Linked DNA regions of Homo sapiens: region 2 is linked to region 1. Evidence: promoter capture Hi-C in 16 types of primary human blood cells and fetal thymus (Javierre and others, 2016). All regions are on one chromosome and are shown on one strand. The core of a region is centred on a gene start or on the middle of the fragment in contact, and the rest is flanking DNA. Distances in the headings are between cores, read along the strand shown.

The links. Contacts are between HindIII fragments. The CHiCAGO score rates a contact against its expected background, and 5 or more counts as called.
Region 2: a contact is called between a fragment that was not itself captured here and the fragment with the promoter of BEND4 in region 1, in 3 of 17 cell types (megakaryocytes, naive B cells and total B cells). The highest score is 8.2, in megakaryocytes.

The regions. Positions count from the first base shown.
Region 1 is chr4:42,149,531-42,156,567 of GRCh38, forward strand. BEND4 (BEN domain containing 4) reads right to left here and starts at 3,125. Exons shown (of 6, transcript NM_207406.4): 1 at 3,002-3,125; 2 at 2,127-2,846. The coding sequence starts at 2,613. RefSeq lists an enhancer at 1,599-2,442 and silencers at 2,208-2,297, 2,498-2,817. The HindIII fragment of the contact is 4,164 bases long and covers 1-4,141 here.
Region 2 is chr4:41,950,783-41,957,819 of GRCh38, forward strand. TMEM33 (transmembrane protein 33) reads left to right here. Exons shown (of 7, transcript NM_018126.3): 7 at 3,288-7,037. The coding sequence ends at 3,417. Among named protein-coding and RNA genes, the nearest start is that of TMEM33, 19 kb to the left of the region's middle. The HindIII fragment of the contact is 804 bases long and covers 2,780-3,583 here.

The sequences.
Region 1 (7,037 bases), core at 1,875-4,374:
CTTAAAAACAACAAAAGCAACCGTGAGAATAAAAGGAAATATGGAGAAATTCGAAGGGCATCAAAAAAGCCCCTCTTCACTCCTTTAGATTTAGTGATGTTATAATTTCCATCTGGGAACAGAGACAAAATAAACTAAACAGGACATCAGAAGGAACACTGAAAAAGAACATTTAGAACAAGGTGAGAAAAGGAAGGAAAAAAAAAACCCACATGAAGGAAGGACAGCAAGGAAACTGCCAGGGTAGAAGTAACCAAGGAAAGAACAGCAAGTGACTGGTGCAGAAAAAAAGAAGCAATACAGGAAATATATAGCCGGCTAAAACTATGGATGAAAATGGAAATGAGAAGGGGGTAAATTTACAGTGTATAACAGGAAGTAAAATATGGAAAGACAATCAACAAAGGCTGGAAGGAGAAGCAAGAGGAGATCAAAGACTGACCTGGGCAGATAGAGGGGAAAACGTCAATGAAAATGATGGAACTGAGGCTACGCAAAAGAGTAAAAGCAAAACACAGAAAATGGGAAAAGGACCCAAATTGCTGGCAAAGAACATAAAAATACAGGATGATAAAGCTGAGCCTAGAAATAAACACATGCCTGAACAAGAAGTAGTTTAGGAGAAAATAAGATCTCAAGCCAGAAAGAAAGAAAATGAACCTCCTTAAGAAGGGGGGAAAAAGAAAAAAAGTAAGGAGGAAAATCAAGTGAGCCAACTGCCTAACAAAGAATATAAAAACACAATGGAATATTGGGGCAAGAGCAACTGAAAAAAAACATACCCCACAAACAATAAGGAAGTCCACCTAAGAACCCCACTGAAAGCAATCAAACATCTTCAAATCAGTGAGAGATGCAACAGATCAAGTCTTCACTATAACCTGTAATTAGGTTTTCTTTTCCAAAACCAATCCTTCATGTGTCAAAATATTGACAAACAACAGAATTATTACTGGAGGCATCTATAACTCATTTAGACACAACACTTCTATTTTCCACAGGAGAAAAAAATAAGTCTCAAGATTCACTGACATGCAGGATTTGGGGGGCTTCAAAGTGCCATAAAAGGCCTTGGCAGGAACTTTTAGTTCTAATGAGTGGATAAACGTGGCTGCACCCACTGGGAGCTGGTGGAGAGGTCCCTTGGGCGCAGGCCTCAGGCTGTGGCCTCGCAACCAGCCCATCTCGCTCCCTGCAGGCAGGCAGTGGGCTGCTTTGCCGGGCAGCGCCCGCAGACTCGAGATAAAGGAGAGGAGTCGCGGACCCCAGAGTGGGTGCCTCCCACGAGGCGTTTCTGTAAGGCTCGGGCCGAGATGCTCGGGAGGGGCAGGACCCCGCGGCGCGGCAGCGTGCCACGGACGGGGACGAGGGGATGGCGGGGACGACGACGTGGGCGGTGGGAGCAGAGTGCCTGCGACTCCCGGGGCAGGAAGGAGGGGCGGGATGGTTCCCCGCGCCCGAAATCCACGGCGTGGCGGACGCGGAGGAGCCCCGAGTCTCACAACCAAGGGGTGGGAAGGAAAAGGGACAGAGCGAGACAGAGCGCCCCCGAGAAACACAGGCGCACAAAAAAAGACAGAAGGAAAAACGGAACTGAGAGCCAGCCAGCATGGACTGCGACAGCGTGAGAGTGCATCAAAGAGGTGGCGAAGAAAGCACTAGAAGGCAAAGGAGAAGTGGAGAGAAGAAGAAACAAATGGAGGAAGAAGGAGAAAGGGAAAAAGCAGACGGAAAAAGTGAAGTAGTACGAGGGCGTCCCAGCGGGGCGGCCCGAGAAGCTCCAGCTTCTTCCCGAGCGGCCGCCGCTATCCCCCGGGGGGGCGTCTGGCCCCACTCCGGACCACGCCCGAGCGATCCTGGTCGCCGACTGCCACAGCCGTGCTTCCCGGCGCGGGATCCAAGCCGCGGAGCCACCTGTTAGGCGCGCGCCGTCGGAAGCCCAGGCGCGGCGGCGCTGGAGAATCCTCTCGAAGTTTCCGGGTGCGCGGGGAGGCCCCAGGTGCGCCCCGACATCCCGACACGGCCCAGCACGGGTAAGTGTCGGCGGCCCCCCGCTTCTCCTTCCTGGGTCCCCTCCCGCTGCCCCCGGCCGTGGCGGGAAGGAAAGTTGTGCGGAGAGTTGGTACCTGCGCTGAGCTCCAGGCTGGCGCTGTCGCTACCCGTGCCGCCGGTGCCGGCGGCCGCCGCCGCGCCTGGGCCATACCTGACGACAGCGGCGAACGAAGACGACGAGGAGGCGGCGGGGGACGCGGGCGGCGGCTGCGCCGGAGTCCTCAAGTGGCCCTGGGATGTGGCGGGCGTGCAGGACGGCGACGACGACGAAGCGGCGGCGGCGGCCCGGCCGGGCCCGGGGGGGTAGGAGCTCTGCGCCTGGAACTGCTGCGGCGGCGGCTCGCTGCTGCTGATGGAGACGGCGGCGTGCGGCGCGAAGGGCGGCGGGGGCGGCGGGGGCGCCCGCACGTGCGGCAGCTCCACCAGGGTGGGTCGCTCGTAGCGCTTGGCCAGCGCCGGTCTCTTGCTGGGGAACGTCTTGAGGACGCTGTAGGGGCTGCGCTGCTTGTAGATTTTGGGGACGCTGGGCCCCTCCTCTGCCGGCTGCATCTCTTCCTCCATCCGGCGCCTCGGGGCCGGTCCCTCGGAGCACGTCCCCTCCCCGCCGGGCGCCGGGCTCCGAGGGTGCCTCCGCCGCCTGCCCGCCGGGTCTGCCCTGGTGCGCGCGTGTGGGAGGGTGTGTGTCTGTGCCGTGGCCGCCGCCGCCGCCGCCTGTCGCTGAGGCTGGCATCGCCGAGCCCCCGCGCGGGGGGCTGCCGCCCGAGCTCCTGATTGACAGGCTGCCTCGCCAATGCCTGGAGGGAGAAAGGAGGTAAAGAGCAAGTGTTTAGGGTAATATCTGCTAATGATAATGGGGGCGGGGCGGGGCCTGGCGCCGCAGCCGCCCGCGGGGTCTGCCTGGCGGCTCCGCGCCTCCGACGGGGAGCGGGGGAAGGGGGAAAGCGAGGACCTGGAGGACGCCCGGGAACTGGTGAAGAAGGTGGGGATCCGGGATCTGGCTACGGCGAGACTTTAGAGACCCAGATGTGGACTCGAGGCTTCTGCGGCTGCGGGCGGGGTCCGGCTTCCGAAACGAGCTCGTGGCGCCCCCTGCATGACCCCAAACTCTCGGGGTTGCACAGAGGAGGGGCTAGTCGTTGGGGCGGGGTCGTCAGAGTACGTGTGTATTACAGCAAGTTCTTCTACCAATCGGGAATTGCTCTCCGATCCTTCTGAAAAGAACCTCTTGAAGATCTTGGCCCGGGTGGTCGCGCGGTGTTTACGGGGCTTTGGGGTCCTGCTTTCCCCGAGCATCGCGGCCTCTGAGCTCATGCGGAACATAAAAGCTCGCAAGGCGTAGAACTTTTTCACGTTTTCATTTGTTTCCCGTAGGGGCCCCGAGAACGTGCATGACACCATGATTTCCCCCCCATTATAAAGATGAGAAAACCGAGGCTCTGAGAGGTTGAAGGGAATTGCCCAAAGTCAGACACTCGGGAGTGTGCGGCTGTGTTGCACTGACGCATCCAGGTTATTTGAAGTCAACTCCTCACTTCCCATAGCCAGTAGCCTCTGTGCAATTGAGTGGGGAAATGTCCTGATACCTCCCTTTGAGGTGATGATTACTTTCAACAGTGTCATTTTTAATATATGTATATGTACTTGCAAGCCCAGGGAAACACGAGAACTCACTCCTTGCATTGTTTTACTCACTGCAACTGGCGCCATCCGGCGAGGGTCTGGAGGGTGCCCAATTTCAGTAGCCGTTTGAATGAGAGATCTCAGTCGTTGGGAGGAAGATCCTCCATGGGATGCAGATGTCCTGGTCTCTCCCAGCCACTTTTTGGGGCAGAGGGTCCATTGCTCCCTATCCCAAATCACCCCTCTTCTAGGCCAACCAGCATACCCTGCCCCAGGTTTGCTTTTCAGCCTTCCTTTTTCGTTCTCCAGGTCAGAGTTCTGGATGCTCCTTGATGTAGGACCCTCATCTCTGCACTCTGAAGTTTGTTTCCTTTTCAGAGCCTTCCTTTTATTCTTAGGAAGGTGACCCATTTTCTTCTGGGGGTTCACATCTTTTGGCCTCTCTTTCCCTGGTCTCCTTCCCTTTGGAAGCTTTTTCTCTCTGCCTTGCTGGTTCAGCTTCTGTATTATTCCCCCCTAGATTGTCTCCCTCTCTCCTGCAGCTTCCTCAGATGGTGCTGTGTCCCCCCCCCAATCCATTTATTAGAGATGAAATAAATAATGCCATAAATATAAGTATTTGGGAGTCCAGGAACTGTCAGGGCTGATTAGGGCATAGAGGACATTTTCTTTCTCATTATGCAAAAGCATTTCATGGGGAAATAAAAGAGGTTTCATTGTAACTCATGCATGTCATATTTCAAGGAATTCAAGATATTAATCATATTTAACATTATTTGCAATGTTTCTCCCTGGCTTCTGAAAACTGCTAAATGAGGACACGTGGATCACTAGGAAAAGGAGACAAGCATGAGAGGGACAGTTAAGAAATAATGAAATGCTGGTGAAAGAGAAAGAGAATGAGATGCCAGGGAGATGTTTCTTAGGCACGTAAGTGAGAAATGGGGGAGCTACTTCTGAGACGTGAGACAGCTGAAATTGAATGATATACTGGAGGAAATAAATGATAACAAACCTCCCCACACTTTCCTTTCTATAAAGCAGTTCTGAATTTTGCATTGAAATGTTTTCCTCCCACTTTACTCCCAGATAATTTGCCAATAAGTCCTGGCTTTTGAAAAGAAATTGGGGTGGTGGCAGTGTGGGGAGTTAAGAGGAGAGAAATCTTTTAGTTCTTCTGAAGAAGTAATTTCCTGTACCTGGGGGCTTCCTCTTCTATGTAGTTTTAAATGTATATCCTCCTCACCACTTAAACACCTTAAGAGACTGGGAACAATACTTCTATTGTATATTTTCTATTGAAAAGGACATGCTGTCCTTTACATCAAAAAGTGATTATTTCTATAAAACTGAAATAATCAAATTAGTCATTTAGCTTTTAAAAGTGGGGGGAAGGGGGAGGGGAAGGTGCCCAGAGGAAAAATATTTAAAAGTTTTAAATGATCAGCTTTCAGATTTTCATGTGGGCAGTCACCTATGTCTGCGTCCTGAGTTCATAGAAAAGTGAAGTACTTAAGAATCACCCTTTTAAAAATAAAATGAGCATTTACTCTAAGTGTGGAGTTGAAGGCAATTTTAAAATTATAGCTGACCACTAACCCCTGCCTGAGATTGTATTTAACTGAGTATTGTACATAGATGTAATGTATTTAAGTGTTCATAAAATTACTGGTAGCACTCTGTGAGCATCTTGCTCTAAATTGTGGCCTAAATTATCAGATAGTGACTTTGCTGATATCTTCTCTTAGGGGTCTCATAGGAGCTGATAGAATAGTAATTATACCCATGCTTTAAATCTTTTTAGATATTTACTCTTATCTCAAAAAAAAAAAAAAGAGAGAGAGAGAGTGAGAGTGAATTTTGAAAAGCCAAGTGGCTATTTATGGACAGGGTGATTTTTTGATTGGCAGCATGTCAATTCCTTGAGCCATCCAGAATATAGCTTTTAAATAATAGCTCAGCCATGGGAAATGCTTTTTATTGCACCAATTTCAATGATATTTAATGAGCTTCTGATTGACTGTTTGATCTCCCAATGTTTTGTGCTACTTTTAATTCATTTCGTATAATAGAAAAAAAAGTAATTGGAATAAAATTTTGTGACAAGATAATGACCTTCCACTTTGAAATTAAATGTCTGATTAGCTTCAACATTTTAATGCCAAGATGATATTGCAGCAGGAACAGGAGTATGCATACTATCATTTGGTACAAAATGACTGAGGAATACTCCTTTGCTTTTCCCATTGCATAGCAAAAAAGGTGTGGTGGCCATATAATCGTAGGTACATAGGACTAGAAGGGACCTATGCAGTCTTTTATTCTTGTGACTAAGCCTCTGCCCATAGTTTTCGATGGCCCTGGCAAGTGGTTGTGCAAACCATGTTTAAATGCCTCCACTGATGGGGATCTTGCTACCTTCAGGGACCTTATTCCCCCAGGTATTTATTCCACAAATATTTATTGAGTGTCTACCATGTGCTAGGTACCTTTCTAAGCACTGGGGGATATAATGTTACCCAGATCACAAGGTCCTACTATTATGGATTTGGGGGGAGCAGGTAAACAAATAAACCAGTAACTAACTGAAAAATATTATTTCAAATAGAAATAACTATGATGAGGGACAGGCACAGTGGTTCATGCTGGTAATCTCAGCACTTTGGGAGGCTGAATGGGGAGGATCACTTGAGCCCAGGAGTTTGAGACCAGCCTGAACAACATAGTGAGAGCCCGTCTCTACAAAAAAATAATAATAACTGAGCATGATGTTGTGCATCTGTGCTTCTAGCTTCTTGGGAGGCTAAGACAGGAGGATCACTTGAGCCCAGGAGTCCAAGGCTGTAGTGAACTGTGATTGTGCCATTGTACTCCAACCTGGAGGACAGAGCCAGGCCCGTCTCTAAACAAACTATGATGAAAAACCAGGGTGGGAGACTGGGCACAGTGGCTCATGCCTGTAATCCCAGCACTTTGGAAGGCCAAGGTGGGAGAATTCCTTGCATCCAGGAGTTTGAGACCAGCCTGGGCAGCATAGTCACACCCTATCTGTACAGAAAATAAAAAATTAGCCAGGTACGGTGGCTAATAGCACCTGTAGTCTCAGCTCCTCAGGAGGCTGAGGCCGGAAGATCACTTGAGCCTAGGAGGTTGAGGCTGCAGTGGGCCAAGATGGTGCCACTGCACTCAGCCTAAGCAACAGAGTGAGACCCTTTCTCAAAAAAAAAAAAAAAAATAGGGTGAGGCTGTTACTTTTGATAGAATGTGACTGAGAGGATCTCTCTGAGGTGGAACAATAGAGCTGAGAGTTCACTCATGAGAAAAAGCCACCCATGAGAAGAGCAGTCCAGGCTAAGGGACAATAG
Region 2 (7,037 bases), core at 1,932-4,431, 200 kb before region 1:
ATCAGCATATTTGTTTTTCTGTGCTTCTTTGTGCCTCCTTCTCCATTCCCATTTTCTTCACATACCCTTAAATCATATTAGTACATCTAGAATTCAGTTTTCAGTGGACTGAAAAGGAAAGGATAGCAGTGAATCAAGATAACACAAATATGTGCTGGTAAACATCTTCAAAGCTGTCTTATAAGCACCCATTTTAACCAAACCAGTGGAAAGGTAATGGAAAATATTTCAGCTTGTAAATATTGATAAACAGGCTATAAAACTACATTTTCAGTACTACACTTTTTTTAATTAAAGGTTTTGAGACCATCTCTATTCACAATTTGTACCATTTTCACCTACGATATTTATTCTCAAGTTGGTGGTTTCAGTTGTTTTTGGATCTCTAGTGCAGATTGTCTATAGCTGTGCTGTCCAGTACAGCACAGCAACCACATTTGACCTTTAAATAAAATTCATAAAACTTAGAACTTGGTTCCTTTTGAGCACAGTTCAGGTGGGTACTCAAAAGCCATGTGTTGCTGATGGCAACTGTGGGTCAGCACACATATGCAAAAATTTTGTCATTACTCAAAGTTCTGTTGTCAGTGCTATTAAGGAACTCTCTGACTGGTCCTTCAGCACAGATATGCAAAAATTTTATCATTGTTCAAAGTTCTGTTGTCCGTGCTGTTAAGGAACTCTGACTTGGTCTGTGCCAGCGATGCAGCCAGTAATAAAAGAACTATGTGACTTTAGTGAAAGCGATTGACTTCATTAGTCCTCATGTCTTCTAGCTTTATTCATTTGACTGATTGGTTAAAACAGTGATTGTATGTTGATGAACTTATGTGGAATTAAAATATCTTCTTTCAGAGGTACTCACTGCTGAATAAATTAGACAGCTATGTAAGTCAGTGTGATGATGAAGGTGCTCTGAAAGCATAGAGAACAGACAGAGACAAATAAGAATTCACTGAGGAGGTGGGAACATAAGCCAAGTCTTTTAAAGAATGAGCCTGAGTTCTGACACATGGGTGCCTGAAAAGTGCTTAGCATACTTGAGCTCAGGAAGTATATAGAGAATTGATAAATATCTGTGTCCACAAAGGTAGATGGTAGAAAGGACTAGATCATGAAAGGGTTTGGATTTTATTTTGAGGTAAGGAGAGCCTTTGAAGATTGTAACATAGAGAGGCTGGGAACCCCCATGATGAAATCTGATTTAGAAATATTCCAGAAAATGGATTGCAAGCTCAGCAAGAGAAGAAAAATATCAATTTGGAGACTATTAGAGTAGTCTAGAGCCTGAATTAATCCAGTGGTAAAAGGAAAAGGGGACAAATATGAAAGGTATTAGGAGATAGGATATTAGGGCTTGAGAGAAAAGAGTAAATTAAAGACCCACAGGTTTCTGGCTTGGAAGCCTAAGAGTTGTAATGGTGCTCTCACGAAGACAGGAGATACAGGAAGGGCAGGTTTTGGAAAATTATGCATTACTCCAAATATTATTATTCCTGTCTTTCTGTGCAAGCATATTAAATACTTGTTTAGAAAAGTAGATTTGTTGCTTTTTTTCTAACCATAGAAGTAAAACAGGACACAAAAAGGTAGAATAGTAGTTGCATCTTTATACAGGATGAGTCAGCACATAAGGTGAAAATTGTGAATGGTTAAAATTACCCTTGATGATCCTTCATATCACTTATAAATGTCAGTACAGTATACATGATTTTGTGTATACTAGCCTGTATAATATATGTGATATCTACAGTATGTAATAATACTTTGTAGGCAGTGAGCACAGTTAAGACATAGGCAAAGCCCACATGGTTTTGGGCACAAACATGCAACATAAGTTGATGATAGGAGCGAGGGCAGGGAGTGGCAGGAGATGGGGCAGAAAATTAGATTGAGACTAGATTGTGGAGGGTATTGGGTGTGACACCGAGTACTTGGGCTTTAGTCGGAAGGCATAAAAGAGTCATAGTTCAGTGTATTGATCCAACTGGGAAGTAACATTTATTGAGCATCTTCCATATTGCATTTAAATTTCACCACAACTCAGAATTATTTTACAGAAGAGGAAATCTCTGAGGGACAATATGTACATTTAAGGAAATAGTGGGTGAATAAATATAACTGTCCATGTTATATATTTTAAAATATATAAAAAACACTGTCCATGTAGTATATTTTTTCTTGTTCTGTTTTAAAAAACTAGTTGAAATTGCCTAAGTTAAATGTGAAAATGATGTGACTCTAAAATATATATATATAATTTTTAAAATTTAATCTGAGGTTTTAGAGATAGCCATTTATTAAATACCTTTGTTAAATGAGTGTTTCCACCCATAAAAGATGTAGGTGTTGTTTGAGAATTTCATTGTATTTTGTGTTTTCTCTACAATGCATTCTAGTTATTCTTTTACTTCAAATTCTAATGGCTATGGTAGATTCCTTCATGAGTATTTGTTTAGCATTAGAGGCATACTTCAGAAATGTTGTGGGAGTGGTTCCAGACTACCACAATAAAGTGAATATCACAAAGCTGTCAGATGAATTTTTTGGTTTTCCAGTGCATACAGAAGTTATGTTTACACTCTACTGTAGTCTGCTAAGTGCGCAATAGCATTACCATCAGCAGTAAGGCTGTTCTGCTTTCTTATCATTCATCCGTTCACAGAAATGGGCTTTTAATTTTCTTCAGGAACTTTTCCTTTGCATTCACAGCTTGGCTATTTGGCACAAGAGGTCTAGCTTTTGGCCTGTCTTAGCTTTAGCCATGCTTTTTTCACTAAGCTTAATCATTTCTAGTTTTCATCTAAAGTAACAGACATGGGAGGCCTCCTTTCACCTGAGCACTTAGAGGCCATTACAGGGTTATTAATTGGCCTAATTTCAGTATTGTGTCTCAAAGAATAGGTAGGTCTGAGGAGAGGGAAAGAGACCAATCAGGAATGGCCTTCATGAACTGCTTCATCTTATATTTGTGCAGTTTGTGGTGCCCCAAAACAGTTACAATAGTAACACCAAAGAGATCACCGTAACAGAACAGATCACAGATCACCATAATAGATTAATAATGAAAACATTTGAAATAGTGGAAGAATTGGCAAAGTGTGACGCAGAGACATGAAGTGAGCACATGCTGTTGGAAAGTGGCACTGATAGTCTTGCTGTATGCGGTGTTGCAACAAACCTTCAATTTGTAAAAAATGAAATATCTATGGAGTACAATAAAATGAGGTAAGCCTGTGTATTGCTTTTTCCTTGTGTTTCTCAAAGAAAACTATTTTGTCTTGCAGGACCTTATTTAATGAACTGAGGATTGTTGTTGAACACATAATAATGAAACCTGCTTGCCCACTGTTTGTGAGAAGACTTTGTCTCCAGAGCATTGCCTTTATAAGCAGATTGGCACCAACAGTTCCATAGTTTAACATCTAGTTAAGCTACAAATATAGTATAAGCATTATTAGCAGCTGGTACTTCTGCTAGGGGTTGTAAATTCCAGGTGTTACACTGACCTCAATCCAATTTACATAATTTACATAAATGCATCTCGGTGGAAAAATAATCATTTTCTTGGCATGTTAAATCAAGCTTAAAAAGTTTTGAGAAAATTTTACTGCGCTGTGTTGCTAATGGTTAAAGAAGTCTGTATCTAGTGATAAATATACCAGTTTTTTTAAAAAGATGCTGTTGTGCCTATATCATGAAGTACATTAATTTCTCATGTAAAAAAAATAGCTCTAAAATTTGTTTCAACCTAATTGGTAACCTGAGTTTATATCTGGCATGAATTCATTATGGTGATACACATATGTGAATTCAGTACATTTTGAGACAGTATTCTACCATTCAGTAATTTTGGTTAATGATTTTAACACTTCTCAGTGTATTTAATTTCAAATTGTTTTTTTAATTGGTTTTATGCTGCTTTGTTAGGACAGATGTGTTTTGAATGTACCATTATAAGAAGAATTCTATGTATCTTAAACTATGATCTTCTAAAATTTTATTTCCGTAAGTACTTCTGTGGCCTTGAGTATTTTTTAAAAGGCTCAACTGTAAGCCTCTTAGCCAGTTGGATAAATATTTGGGGTCACCTAGCCATTGAAAGCAGAAAGCAGTAGTGACACAGCTTTCCCTTCAAAGAGCCATTGAGAAACATTTCTCAAACAGGAAATCCTTCTTTTACTAATGTGGACATATAGATTATTCGTATTATAGTTTGTAGAACTACCTAGTTCAGAATCTTGACTGCCAGTTTTCTTGGTTTCTTAGGCTTGAATTTTCATAGACAATTGCAACAGTTTAGATGCCTTTTGAAAGGAATGTAATGAAGATTCAGCATCTGACTATATGTGTGTCTATCCTGAAATAATAATGGAGAGTATACTGTAGATTACATGTTTACCCATCAAATCTGACTTAAAAGGTTAAATGGAAGGTTTTATAGGTAAGGTAATTGATTGGGAATGGGGTAGGGGGAGGAGTTGTGGGGGAATAATGTGCATTTCAGTCTCAACGCATAGATAAATTTAGGGGAATTGGATGTATTATTCAACTTTGATTTGGGTTGTAAAATGTGTTAAATCCTGTTCATTGAACTCCCATCAACTCTTATAAAATTCATGCTGATCTTCATTACCGTTGCATGATTGGAAATGTTTAAAACATTGTACAGTTTTAGTATAGAGAAATGTAATGGTTTTTGTGACCAGTTTCTGTCTGCATGTAATTTGGATTTCTCAAATACATTCATTAGTAATTTATCAGTAACATTAGTTTTATTTTTGTTCATCTCCTTATCTATAAAAAGGGGATATTCTTAGGATAAATACATGAAAAATTATACTTGATAGCTTAACTATAATCAGCTATTTTTGTATTTTTGTAATATTTGTCCACTAAGCTGGAGAAGCAGCCTCATACAGTTGATTTTGTGTATGTGGCTAGTCTTATTGTCACTATGTAAGTAATCCAATGGTTTTAGAAACTAAACTTTCTAGAGCAATAAAATGACTATAATGTTAAGTAAACATAATGTTGATTTCTAATTATGTTTTAAAAAATGAAGTCTTGAATTATATCAAGAAATTTTGGCAGCTGAAGTCATGTTTATTTTGAAGCTGTTAGTTTTTTCCTATAATTTAAAAAGATCTTTTAGATTTATAGAAGAGTCAGAAATGTACAAGAGAGTTTTTTTGTTGTTGTTTTTGTTTTTTGAGACAGAGTCTGTCTCTGTCGCCAAGGCTGGAGTGCAGTGGCGCAATCCTGGCTCACTGTAGCCTCTGCCTCCTGGGTTCAAGTGCTTCTCCTGCCTCAGCCTCCCGAGTAGCTGGGACTACAGGTGCACGCCACCACGCCTGTAGTCCCAGCTGTATTGTAAAAATACAAAATTTTAGTATTTTTAGTAGAGACAGGGTTTCACCATGTTGGCCAGGATGGTCTCGATCTCCTGACCTCGTGATCTGCCTGCCTCGGCCTCCCAAAGTGCCGGGATTACAGGTGTGAGCCACCGCGCCCTGCCAAGAAGAGTTCTTTTGCATACCCTTTACTCAGGTCCTCTCATGTTAACGTTTTACATAACTGTAGAACATTTATCTAAAGTAAGATATTAGCCCAGAACAATACTACTAACTGAAGTATAAAACTTATTTGAATTTCAACAGTTTTTTTTTCATTTCTTATTTTCCTTTTGTGTGCTCTGTTTATACCATGATCCATGATTTTTTTAAAATCATGATTGTCTTTTAAAGATCTGTGTGTCTCTGTTTTGAGTTTTTCCTGTTTATTTTGAAAAGTACTGTTGGTCAAGATAATTGGTCAATAATCCATGTTGGTTTTAACAAAAAGCATTTTAACATTAAAAATATTACAGTATAAAATAACACTCTGTGCTTTAAATTGAGGTTTTATGTCATTTTAGCAGAATTATAATATTTCTGATATACTCATGTTTGACAAGTTGAAACAGATTTGTTTCTTAAAGGAAGGTTTAATATACAAAAAAAGGTAATCTTAAACTTACGAAAAAGTAAATTTTACAATTTGAGCATTACTAGATGTTTAGTTTGCATGAACTCATAGTTAGAAATTCTGCAATAGGAATATCTACAACCGGCTGATTTGGAATTTGAAATTATAGTGTTACATGTATACCTATCAAATTAAAATTAAGGAAATACAATAGCAATATATAGAATGAATGTAGTAACAGAAATTAACTCTTTACTGCATCATTGAACTTATTGTTAGTTACAGGTTTAAAAGAAGTTCATTTAACATCCAGTGTGTCTAATTCTTCTGGAAGTGGTGTAGTACCATTGTTCTTCTGGCATTTTTAAATATTAAACCTTTTTGGATAGATGGAAGCCTTATACAAAATCTACTTTATTTTAGCAAGGATTCTCTGTCCTTTTGTATAGTTGGTACCTTACTAATTTAAACTCTAATATCAATCTAAAGAGAAATTTATTATGCAATTTGTATTTAGGTTTTTTTTTTTTTTTTTGGAATGAAGTTCAGAGGTAGATCCTCCTGGAAGAAAGAAAGCAAGCGAACTTTTTAAAGAAAATTAGACTTGAATATTTAAGAATGTCCCTTACAGAGAAAAGGCCAACTATAATACTAAGCTAAAAGTTATGAAAAATTAATAGGTTCTTTTATAGAGCTAAGAATGATGAAACCATCAATACTTCCTTCTTCCTAAAAATCCAGATCAAAACTTCAGGTTAGGTTTCTAAGTTTAGGACATGAATATTATTTTTTTCTGGAAAAGAAGATGAGTATATGTGTAATAAGACAAGTAGAACTGAGAGATTTAGTTTTTTTTTTTTTTAAGTTTTAGTTCAGAATAACATTAATTTTGAGAGATTGAGGTAAAGAACCTTAACTAATGCTAAGGAGTTTATTTTGATTAACATAGGTTATTCTGACCACCACCTCTTCCTTCCTTAATCTCCTTAGAATCTGACAGTCTCAAAGCTGTCACACAAATTAGACTAATTTTGACACTTTGAAATGAAAACTTCAAGGAAGAAGTAGCC